2 separate regions of the Homo sapiens genome follow, and region 1 is linked to region 2. The links are contacts of gene promoters, found by promoter capture Hi-C in blood cells and fetal thymus (Javierre and others, 2016). All regions are on one chromosome and are shown on one strand. The core of a region is centred on a gene start or on the middle of the fragment in contact, and the rest is flanking DNA. Distances in the headings are between cores, read along the strand shown.

What was found. Contacts are between HindIII fragments. The CHiCAGO score rates a contact against its expected background, and 5 or more counts as called.
Region 1: a contact is called between a fragment that was not itself captured here and the fragment with the promoter of UBE3A in region 2, in 1 of 17 cell types (fetal thymus). The highest score is 8.8, in fetal thymus.

Annotation. Positions count from the first base shown.
Region 1 is chr15:22,780,789-22,785,574 of GRCh38, reverse strand. No RefSeq gene overlaps it. Among named protein-coding and RNA genes, the nearest start is that of NIPA1, 3.5 kb to the left of the region's middle. The HindIII fragment of the contact is 7,008 bases long and covers 1-4,786 here.
Region 2 is chr15:25,436,998-25,442,047 of GRCh38, reverse strand. UBE3A (ubiquitin protein ligase E3A) reads left to right here and starts at 3,024. Exons shown (of 13, transcript NM_130839.5): 1 at 3,024-3,559. RefSeq lists enhancers at 2,017-2,962, 2,963-3,908 and silencers at 2,760-3,099, 3,460-3,879. The HindIII fragment of the contact is 4,364 bases long and covers 1-4,337 here.

The DNA.
Region 1 (4,786 bases), core at 2,051-4,550, 2.7 Mb after region 2:
TGATTATTCTAATGACAGTATAATAATTTGTCTAACCATTCAGCCATTGTTGGGTGTTAGGTAGCTACCAGGTTGGTTTGTTTTTTTGAGACAGAGTCTCGCTCTGTCGCCCAGGCTGGAGTGCAATGGCGCGATCTCGGCTCACTGCAACCTTCCGCCTCCCGGATTCAAGCGATTCTCGGCCTCAGCCTCCGAGTATCTAGAATTACAGGCGTCCGCCACCACGCCCGGGTTAATTTTTGTATTTTGAGTAGAGACGCGGTTTCACCATCTTGGCAAGGCTGGTCTTGAACTCCTGACCTCAGGTGATCCGTCCGCTCTACCTCCCAAAGTGCTGGGATTACAGGCGTGAACCACCGCGCCTGGCCGGTTGCTGCCAGGTTTTGTTGTCTATAAACGATGCTACAAGCTGGGCACAGTGGCTCACACCTATAATCCCAGCACTTTGGGGACCGAGGTGGGAGGCTCGCTTGAGCTCAGACGTTCAAGACCAGCCTGGGCAACGTAGCGAGACCCGTCTCTACCAAAAAAAGAAAAAAATTAATTAGCGGGGCGTGGTGGCTTTTACCTCCAACCCCAGATACTCTGGAGGCAGAGGTGGGAGGATGGCTTGAGGTGGAGGTTGCAGTGAGCTGTTATTGCACCACTGCACTCCAGCCTGGGCAACAGAGCAAGATTGTCTCAAAAACAAACGAAAAGTATAAACCTTTTGGCAGCTTTGCATACAGCATTATTATTTTGTGAAGAAATATAAAATAGGGCCGGGGAGGTGGCTCATGACTGTAATCCCAGCACTTTGGGAGGCGGAGGCGGACGGATCCGGAGGTCAGGTGGATGGATCAGGAGGTCAAGAGATCGAGACCATCCTAGCTAACACGATGAAACCCGGTCTCTACTAAAAATACAAAAAATTAGCCGGGCATGGTGGAGGGCGCCTGTAGTCCCAGCTACTCAGGAGGCTGAGGCAGGAGAATGGCGTGAACCCGGGAGGCGGAGCTTGCAGTGAGCCGAGATGGCACCACTGCACTCCAGCCTGGGCGACGGAGTGAGACTCCGTCTCAAAAAAAAAAAGAAAAAAAAAAGAACTCCACCCCAGACATTTTTCCATGTGAGTACATAGGTTAAATGACAGGCATATTTTATCTGATGGGGAAACACATATGGGATTTTAATTAAAAACATAAAACTATATTTTGCTTGAATTTAACAAAAGAAAAACTGAAATGAAACTACAGTAACTACTGAATGACAAACATTATTTTGCCATGAGATATTACTTCCTAAAAGATACACCTAAAATTAAAGTTAGTAGGCCAGGTACAGTGGCTCATGCCTATAATCCCAGTACTTTGGGAGGCCAAGGCCAGCAGATCACTTGAGCCCAGGAGTTTGAGATCAGCCTGGGCAACATGATGAAACCCCATCTCTGCAAAAAAATACAAAAATTAGCCAGGCATGGTGACATGTGCTTGTAGTCCCAGCTACTCAGGAGGCTATGGGAGGATCACTTGACCCCAGAAGTTGAGGCTACAGTGAGCCATGATCACGCCACTGCACTCCAGCCTGGGCAACAGAAGTGAGACCCTGTCTCAAAAAAAAAAAAAAAAAAGTGAGAAACACTAAGAGGGTGGGAGTTACGTTTATTTTAACTCTGGGTTTCAATTTTGGGCTATCAATTGATTCCTTGCAAGGAGAAATGAGGAAATCAGTTCACTTTTCAGCTCCCTAAAAAATTTTTTTTTCGTCTTATGTTTTGAGATGGAGTCTTGCTCTGTCACCCAGGCTGGAGTGCAGTGGCGTGATCTTGGCTCACTGCAACCTACGCTTCATGGGTTCAACCAATTCTCTGCTTCAGCCTCCCAAGTAGCTGGGATTACAGACGCCTGCCACCACGCCTGGCGAATTTTTTTGTATTTTTAGTAGAGACAGGGTTTCACCATCTCGGCCAGGCTGGTCTTGAACTACTGACTTCGTGATCCACCAGCTTCGGCCTCCCAAAGTGCTGGGATTACAGGCGTGAGCCACTGTACCCGGCCAAGAATTGTTTCTTCTCCTTACCTAGGTAGAGACTTCTGTAGAAATGCCGGGAGATTTTTGGAGAGGGGAGATTTTTCTTTTTTTTCTTTTCTTTTCTTTTCTTTTTTTTTTTTTTTGAGATGGAGTCTCGCTCTGTTGCCCAGGCTGGAGTGCAGTGGCGCGATCTTGGCTCACTGCAAGCTCCACCTCCCGGATTCACGCCATTCTCCTGCCTCAGCCTCCCAAGTAGCTGGGACTACAAGCACCCGCCACCATGCCTGGCTAATTTTTTATGTTTTTAGTAGAGATGGGGTTTCACTGCGTTTGCCAGGATGGTCTCGATCTCCTGACCTCATGATGTGCCCGCCTTGGCCTCCCAAAGTGCTGGGATTACAGGCGTGAGCCACCGCGCCCGGTGGGAGATTTTTCAGATAAAAAATTCAGCAGTTTGGGAGGCCAAGGTGGGTGGATCATGAGGTCAGGAGTTGAAGACCAGCCTGGCCAAGATGGTGAAACCCCGTCTCTACTAAAAATACAAAAATTAGCCAGACACAATGGCAGGTGCCTGTAATCCCAGCTACTCGGGAGGCTGAGGTAGGAGAATCCCTTGAACCTGGGTGGCAGAGGTTGCAGTGAGCCGAGATAGCACCACTGCACTCCAGCCTGGGCAATAAGAGTCAGACTCCGTCTAAAAAAAAAAAAAAATTTAATGGATCTAGTTCTAAACCTCATTTTGAATCCACCCACGTTGCTCTGAAATACATTCATCTTTCCTGTGGCTAAAACCTTAAAGCCTAGCCAGTAACTCCCATTGCACTTGAGGAAATCCAGTCTCCTTGCTGTGGCCCCTAACAGGCTGCTGCTGGCCCACCACGGTGCCTCTAGTTTGTGTAAAATGCATATGTTAATTCATAATAAACCATACAAGGCTTTTTTTTTTTTAGCTCTAAAAGGCTATTATTTACTAGTTGCTGTGTGAATCAGTATTTCTGGGTGCAGTTAGAAATTATTAGAGTTAATGCCCAAGACTCATCTCAACCAACACGGGGGAGGGCATCTGCTCCTTTTATGGTCAGTGACTCTGGGCCTCCTTCTGCTGGGCTCAGTCCTGAGGTGGGTCTGACTCAGGTCAGAGCTGTGCACCCCGGCCCTCCTCCCCAACGTGCATGAGTGCTCTTTAGGATGGAGCTGAACACCGGCTTCTCAAAACCATGTGGCCCCATCACAGGCCCTGAGAACTGATTGGGTCACTCTGGTGGGCTCCCCAGCCCTAGACAAGAAGGGTTTCTCTAGGGAGCCTGGCCCCCACTCATGAGACCTGGAGCCTCAAAGATCTCTTCGGAGCCCCAAAGATCTCTTTGCAGTGTATCAGCCCAGGCCTCCACACTGTGGCCTCTGCTCTCCTCTCCTGTTCCCCATGTGCATTTTCTTTTTCTTTTTGGCTTCACTTCTGAGTTATTCATTTAGCCATTTACTGCAGGAGCGAGGTGAGGATAGGAGAGTACTTGGGGTACCCGTAATGTTCACTGTGGTCTGGGGGTCCCCGAGCAGGACAGTGAGTTTGGGGTCTGGGGCTCAGGCGCTATGGGAGTAGACTGTGCGAAGTGACAGGAAGACATCCGCCTTGCATATTTTCTTTGGTTTTAAAGAAAGACGTTACCATTTCATGTTATATTTGTTTTATGAGACAGTTTCATTCTGTTGCCCAGGCTGGAGTGCAATGGTGCGATCTCAGCTCACTGCAACCTCCGCATCCCAGGTTCAACCGATTCTCCTGCCTCAGTCTCCTGAGTAGCTGAGATTACAAAAAAAAAAAGGTACATTTTAAAGCAGAGTAACAAATTGATAACTAAGCGTGGAGTGGAAAGAGGTGACCCCCGAGGACTGGAAATGGCAACGTTAGACTATGAACTACATTTCTCCCATGGCTGATTTGGCCTATGCCCAGGAATGAGCAAAGACAGCAGGCCCGTGAGACTGGAAGCAAGATGGAGTCAGCCATGCTAAACTTCTCTCACTGTCATCTTTGCAAAGCTGGTCTCACCATTTATTGAAGTGAATATTCTTTTTTTTTTTTTTTTAATGAGACGAAGTCTTACTCTGTTGCCCACACAGGAGTGCAATGGTGCAATCTTGGCTCACTGCAACCTCCACCTCCTGGGTTCAAGCAATTCTCCTGCCTCAGCCTCCCGAGTAGCTGGGATATCAGGTGCCCACCACCATGCCTGGCTAATTTTTGTATTTTTAGTAGAAATGGGGTTTCACCATGTTGGGCCTCACAATACACATCAGCCCATCTCCTCTCCTGCTTGACAGGGATGGTCATGATCCTCATTTCCCAGTTAAACAAGCCGAAACTCCATTATGGGGTTTCACCATATTGGCCAGGCTGGTCTCGAACCCCTGACCACAAGTGATCCAAGCACCTCGGCCTCCAAAGTGCTGAGATTACAAGTGTGAGCCACTATACCCAGCCAATTAGGGGTAAATATCCAACATTTAGCCCGGTGCAGTGGCTCACTCCTTAATCCCAGCACTTTCAGAAGCTGAGGTAGGAGGATCACTTGAGCCCAGGAGTTTGAGTCCAGGTCTGGCAACATAGTGAGACCTTGTCTTAACAAAAAATTTAGAACTTAGCCAGGCATGGTGGTGTGCGCCTGTAGTCACAACTACTTGGGAGGCTGAGATGGAGGAGTGTTTGAACCCAGAAGGTCAAGTAAGCTGTGATTGTGCCACTGTACTCCAGTCTGTGTAACAGAGCAAGACCCTG
Region 2 (5,050 bases), core at 1,775-4,274:
ACATTTGGATGTGGCCTAAAAATAGCAACCGTGACTTCTATCCCACCATATCTGAATTTTGTCTCTTCCATGCTCGACTTATTTCTGATCCTGGGGCATGCTGAGTAGTAAAAAAAGTTGTTCTTGCATTTTGATTCATCTGTTATGACTGGCATCAATAAGAAATCTTCAGCAATAAAACAGCTCTGTCAAAAAACAACTTCACCAGCAATTTAGGGCAAAATGTTTCCTTTAAAAAAAAGTTTGTTGGCTGGGCATGGTGGATCATGCCTGTAATCCCAGCACTTTGGGAGGCCGAGGCGGGCGGATCACGAGGTCAGGAGATCGAGCCCATCCTGGCTAACACGGTGAAACCCCGTCTCTACTAAAAATACAAAAAATTAGCCAGGCGTGGTGGCGGGTGCCTGTAGTCCCAGCTACTTGGGAGGCTGAGGCAGGAGAATGGCATGAACCTGGGAGGTGGAGCTTGCAATGAGCCAAGATTGCGCCACTGCACTCCAGCATGGGCGACGGAGCAAGACTCTGTCTCAAAAAAATAATAATAATAATAAAATAAAAAGTTTGTTAGTATTAGCAGATACATATTACTAGGTACCCCCCATGCTCAATGAAGTGTTGGGTTACTCTGAAAAAGTGTCCAATCTTACAGGTGTGACTTCCTCTGGAACTGCAAGTTCTTGAGGGCAGGGATAGAGATTGTTCATCTTTTATTGTTTCCCAAGGTCTGGCACATAAATAGTAGTTCAAGTAGTCCAACATATGACACATAAATAGTTCTGGGTAAACATTAGCTCAAAGTTTGCTCAAGGCATTGATGCAGATGCTTATAAAATTAAATTGCTCTTTTTACTGTATACCTGAAATGAGAAAATTATTAGAAACTACTGGGTCTCATTTGGACTAGAAAAGTCTGAAGAAATCACTGTTCACTTAGTAGATACAAAGTTGTTTTTCTGGGAAAAACACACCTAAAAAAAAAAAAACACATGGGTCTGATATGGGAGAATTTTTTTATTTTTCATATAAACAGGTGTATAGGGAAGTGGAACACTGCTAGTATCTTAAGGATTCCTGAAAGTATTTATGTTGGTAAGTTTGATGAGCAAACATTTCTAAATTTGAAAATGGATAAAACAAAAAGCACAGTGAAATCTTGAAAGAATTCTAATACTAATGTCACACATAAGAATACAGATTTAAAATTAATGAACTAAAACGGATATACGTAATTTCTCCAGGAGGAATTAAGATCCTCCTTGATCTCAGTAAAGCAATGAATAGTCATTCTGACATCTAGCTAAAAGCAGACTTATTTCCCTTCGGTCTTTAATCTTTTTGGAACTCAGGGATTTCCGCCACACTTTGATACACCAGGCCATTATAAAATTACACTTAATTTATTGTCAATTTCTACTTAAAAGGAAGAATACCTATAAGTATCTCCATATGCTAGATATAGTAGAAATGGTATGCTTTAATTAGTCCAACAATAAAGTCCTTAAAGATTTACATTCTTTGTTGCCTATTTTGAAAACTTGCGAAGATAAATTTTTTTAAAGATTATAATTCTTACTAGTCCTTTCCATGAAATATAACAGCAAATAGTTTCCAAATGTGGATGTGTAATGAGAGGAAATGAAAAGTGAGTAAAGAGCTGAGTTAAAACATCTTAAAATCGAATATGGCTTAATACTATCATTATCATCAGTTGTCCTGGAATAACTTAAATTCTTCTAGCTTATTGTTGGTTTTTCAATGGTTGGTTATAGTTGTGAGGCGGATACACACACACACCCACACACTTGGCTATACAAAAAAGATGTTCCGAGACTGACAGTTAAAAATTACACTGCTGGCCGAGCACTGTGGCTCATGCCTGTAGTCCCAAAACTTTGGGAGGCCGAGGTGGGAGGATCACTTGAGGCCAGGAGCTCGAGACCAGCCTGGGCCTAACATAGCAAGACACCATTTCTAAGTTTAAAAATAAAAATAAATTTAAAAAAGATACACTGCTATGTACGACTGTTGATATAAAAAATCTGAATACTAGACATGGGTACTCATCTAGTACTTCAAGGGCTTATCAACAAAGTTGCAAGTTGTAACACTATGAATTGTTAGTGATACTCTTTTGGCTTTGCTAGCAAGTGTTGTAAAGCTATACACACACACACACACACACACACACATACACACACACACCTTTTAAAATGGTGACCCTGGTACCAAATATGACTTTAAATGGATTTAATTTTAATGGCTTTAACTACGTTCAGCTGTCATATGGATCAAAATTAGCCTCTATCCAGCTGGGGTCAACCAGGGAGCCACTTTTCTTAACCGACGACCTACTGAACGTCAACAACTGCAGGAGACGGGACTTTACCTTCGTCTCTGGTAAACTAGTTGACACATCCTGTGTTGGCAAGAGGCCTAAGTAGATGACCTTGGTCCTCTAAAATCTGGCCTGCACTCTCGGGGCACCCCTGCAACATCTACAAAGGCAGCTCCAGATAGAAAAGGGTTGGGGTCGAAAAGCCAATAACGGCAGGCACCTGCCCCGCCTCGGGGCTGGGGGGCTATTCCAGCGGCTTCAGCTAACTTTCAGAGCCATTCGTTTCCCAACAAAGTCTGAGGCGTTCCTCTGCTGGGTACACCAAGGGGCTCTGCAACCCTCCTGGGGGGGGGGGTGCCCAGAGGGCTTCCGGAAGTCCCAGGTTTATTCTTTCGGGTCACAGACAGCAGAAACTAAAAAGAGGGATTACCCTTTCTGTCCAGTCGCAAGATGGCGACCGAGCCTGGTGGGACTCCGAGGGGCCGCAGGCCACCTCCTCTTCCCAATGGCCCGTGCGCCGGCGGCGACGGCAAGCGGGAGGGAGGCGGGGCCGGCGAAGGAAGGAGGGGCGGAGCGCGGCGCCCTCCCGCGCGTCTTGGCCCCGCCCCACGTCCCCGCGTCCCGGCCTGGAGCCCTCGCCCGGCCGGGCGGCGCGCGCTGCCTGCCGGGATACTCGGCCCGCCCAGCCAGTCCTCCCGTCTTGCGCCGCGGCCGCGAGATCCGTGTGTCTCCCAAGATGGTGGCGCTGGGCTCGGGGTGACTACAGGAGACGACGGGGCCTTTTCCCTTCGCCAGGACCCGACACACCAGGCTTCGCTCGCTCGCGCACCCCTCCGCCGCGTAGCCATCCGCCAGCGCGGGCGCCCGCCATCCGCCGCCTACTTACGCTTCACCTCTGCCGACCCGGCGCGCTCGGCTGCGGGCGGCGGCGCCTCCTTCGGCTCCTCCTCGGAATAGCTCGCGGCCTGTAGCCCCTGGCAGGAGGGCCCCTCAGCCCCCCGGTGTGGACAGGCAGCGGCGGCTGGCGACGAACGCCGGGATTTCGGCGGCCCCGGCGCTCCCTTTCCCGGCCTCGTTTTCCGGATAAGGAAGCGCGGGTCCCGCATGAGCCCCGGCGGTGGCGGCAGCGAAAGAGAACGAGGCGGTGGCGGGCGGAGGCGGCGGGCGAGGGCGACTACGACCAGTGAGGCGGCCGCCGCAGCCCAGGCGCGGGGGCGACGACAGGTCAGTGTTGCCGCGGCCTGCGCCAGGCGGCGCTGGCTCCCCTCCGTCACTCGGCCGGCCTTCGGGGCCCGCTGTGGCGAGGTCGACACCCCCCTTCCCCGCCCCCCGCCGCCGAGGCGAGTGTTTGGGGGCGCGTGGTCCGAAGGGGCTGGTGCCAGAAGTAGGCCCCTGGTGGCCGCGGCTGCTGCAGCCGTAACTGTCAGTCCTGGCTGAGCGACGGCGGGAGGGTTTTGTCGCCCGAGGGGACGCGAGCGGGCCCGGGGCGGGGCGGGACGTGCGAGGCGTCGAGATTTGGGCCTCCTAGGAGCCAGGCTCTTCGAGCCAGCCGGGGCCCCAGACAGGGAAGGGCAGGCCCTTTCCTTCAAAGGGGAGCCCTTTCTCGGCGTTTTCAAGGTTTTTGGCTCTCTTGGGGAAGACATATTTAGCCGTGTGCTTGGTGGGTTGGGGTTTTGGGGGTGGATTGATGGGAAGGGAGGGCGGATGAAGTGGTATGTCAAGCCCAAGGGTTGTGCGCACAGGTTACTCTGTGTTACCGGCCACCAGGATTTCTGAAGTTGAACGTGAGTTATTGGCTTTGCCAGAGACTGCTGTGTTATATGCAGACCTGTATGCAAGCAGTTGGCCTTTTTTCCCCCCCCTTTTCAGTGTAGAAAATGAAAAGGATGCTTTCCTCATCTTGGTGGTAAAGGCTTTTGTTGGTAAAGGTAGAATTGAATGTACCAAATGCCTTAGTCCGTAAAATTTTAGAAATAATTTTAATACAGACACTGGTGAAGCTTGGCAACCTTGAAAGAGAATTTAGCGTCTACATTTTTTAAATGACTTTTTATGGATATGCTAAATTAGTAACAGTCCAAAATCTGTTTGAGATTATTAAGTGGCGAGGGTGCTGTTGAAAATGTAAACTAATAGCATATGGGGTTTACAGTGCACAGTTAACCTCAATCATGAAGAAATGTGGATATGACCCGTAATTTTGGATCATTTTACTGCCTGCAATATTGAGAGAAGCAGCAAATTATTACAGTTTTTTTTGGGAGACGACCTAAAGTTTAAGAAATACAACTGTTGAAAGTTACCTGTCAGAGACACAAAGGTACCCAATCAATCTTGTTGAATAAATTGGACAAGTGGGATAAGGTGTTTGTCTCACACTTCTGATCAATAAGTACTCTTACTTAAGAAGTGATTTGGTAAATCATGTAAAATTTAGAATTTAGGAGAGATAAGAAAGTTGTAACTTGGTGTGTATAGTGGAAATAGCTTTGAAATTAGATCCTGTTTTTAAATCCAAGCTACTTACCACATTTTTAGTGAAATGAATACATTATTAATGATGCTACTGATAAGCCCTAAGGATGACCAGAAGCCCTTTTAAGAAACACTAATACAGTTGACCAAAAAATAAAAAAGGAAATAGCTTCAAGAAATAATTTTCAATCTTTGTGTATTTATAATATACACAGGAGAAATAAAAGAACAGAATATGAA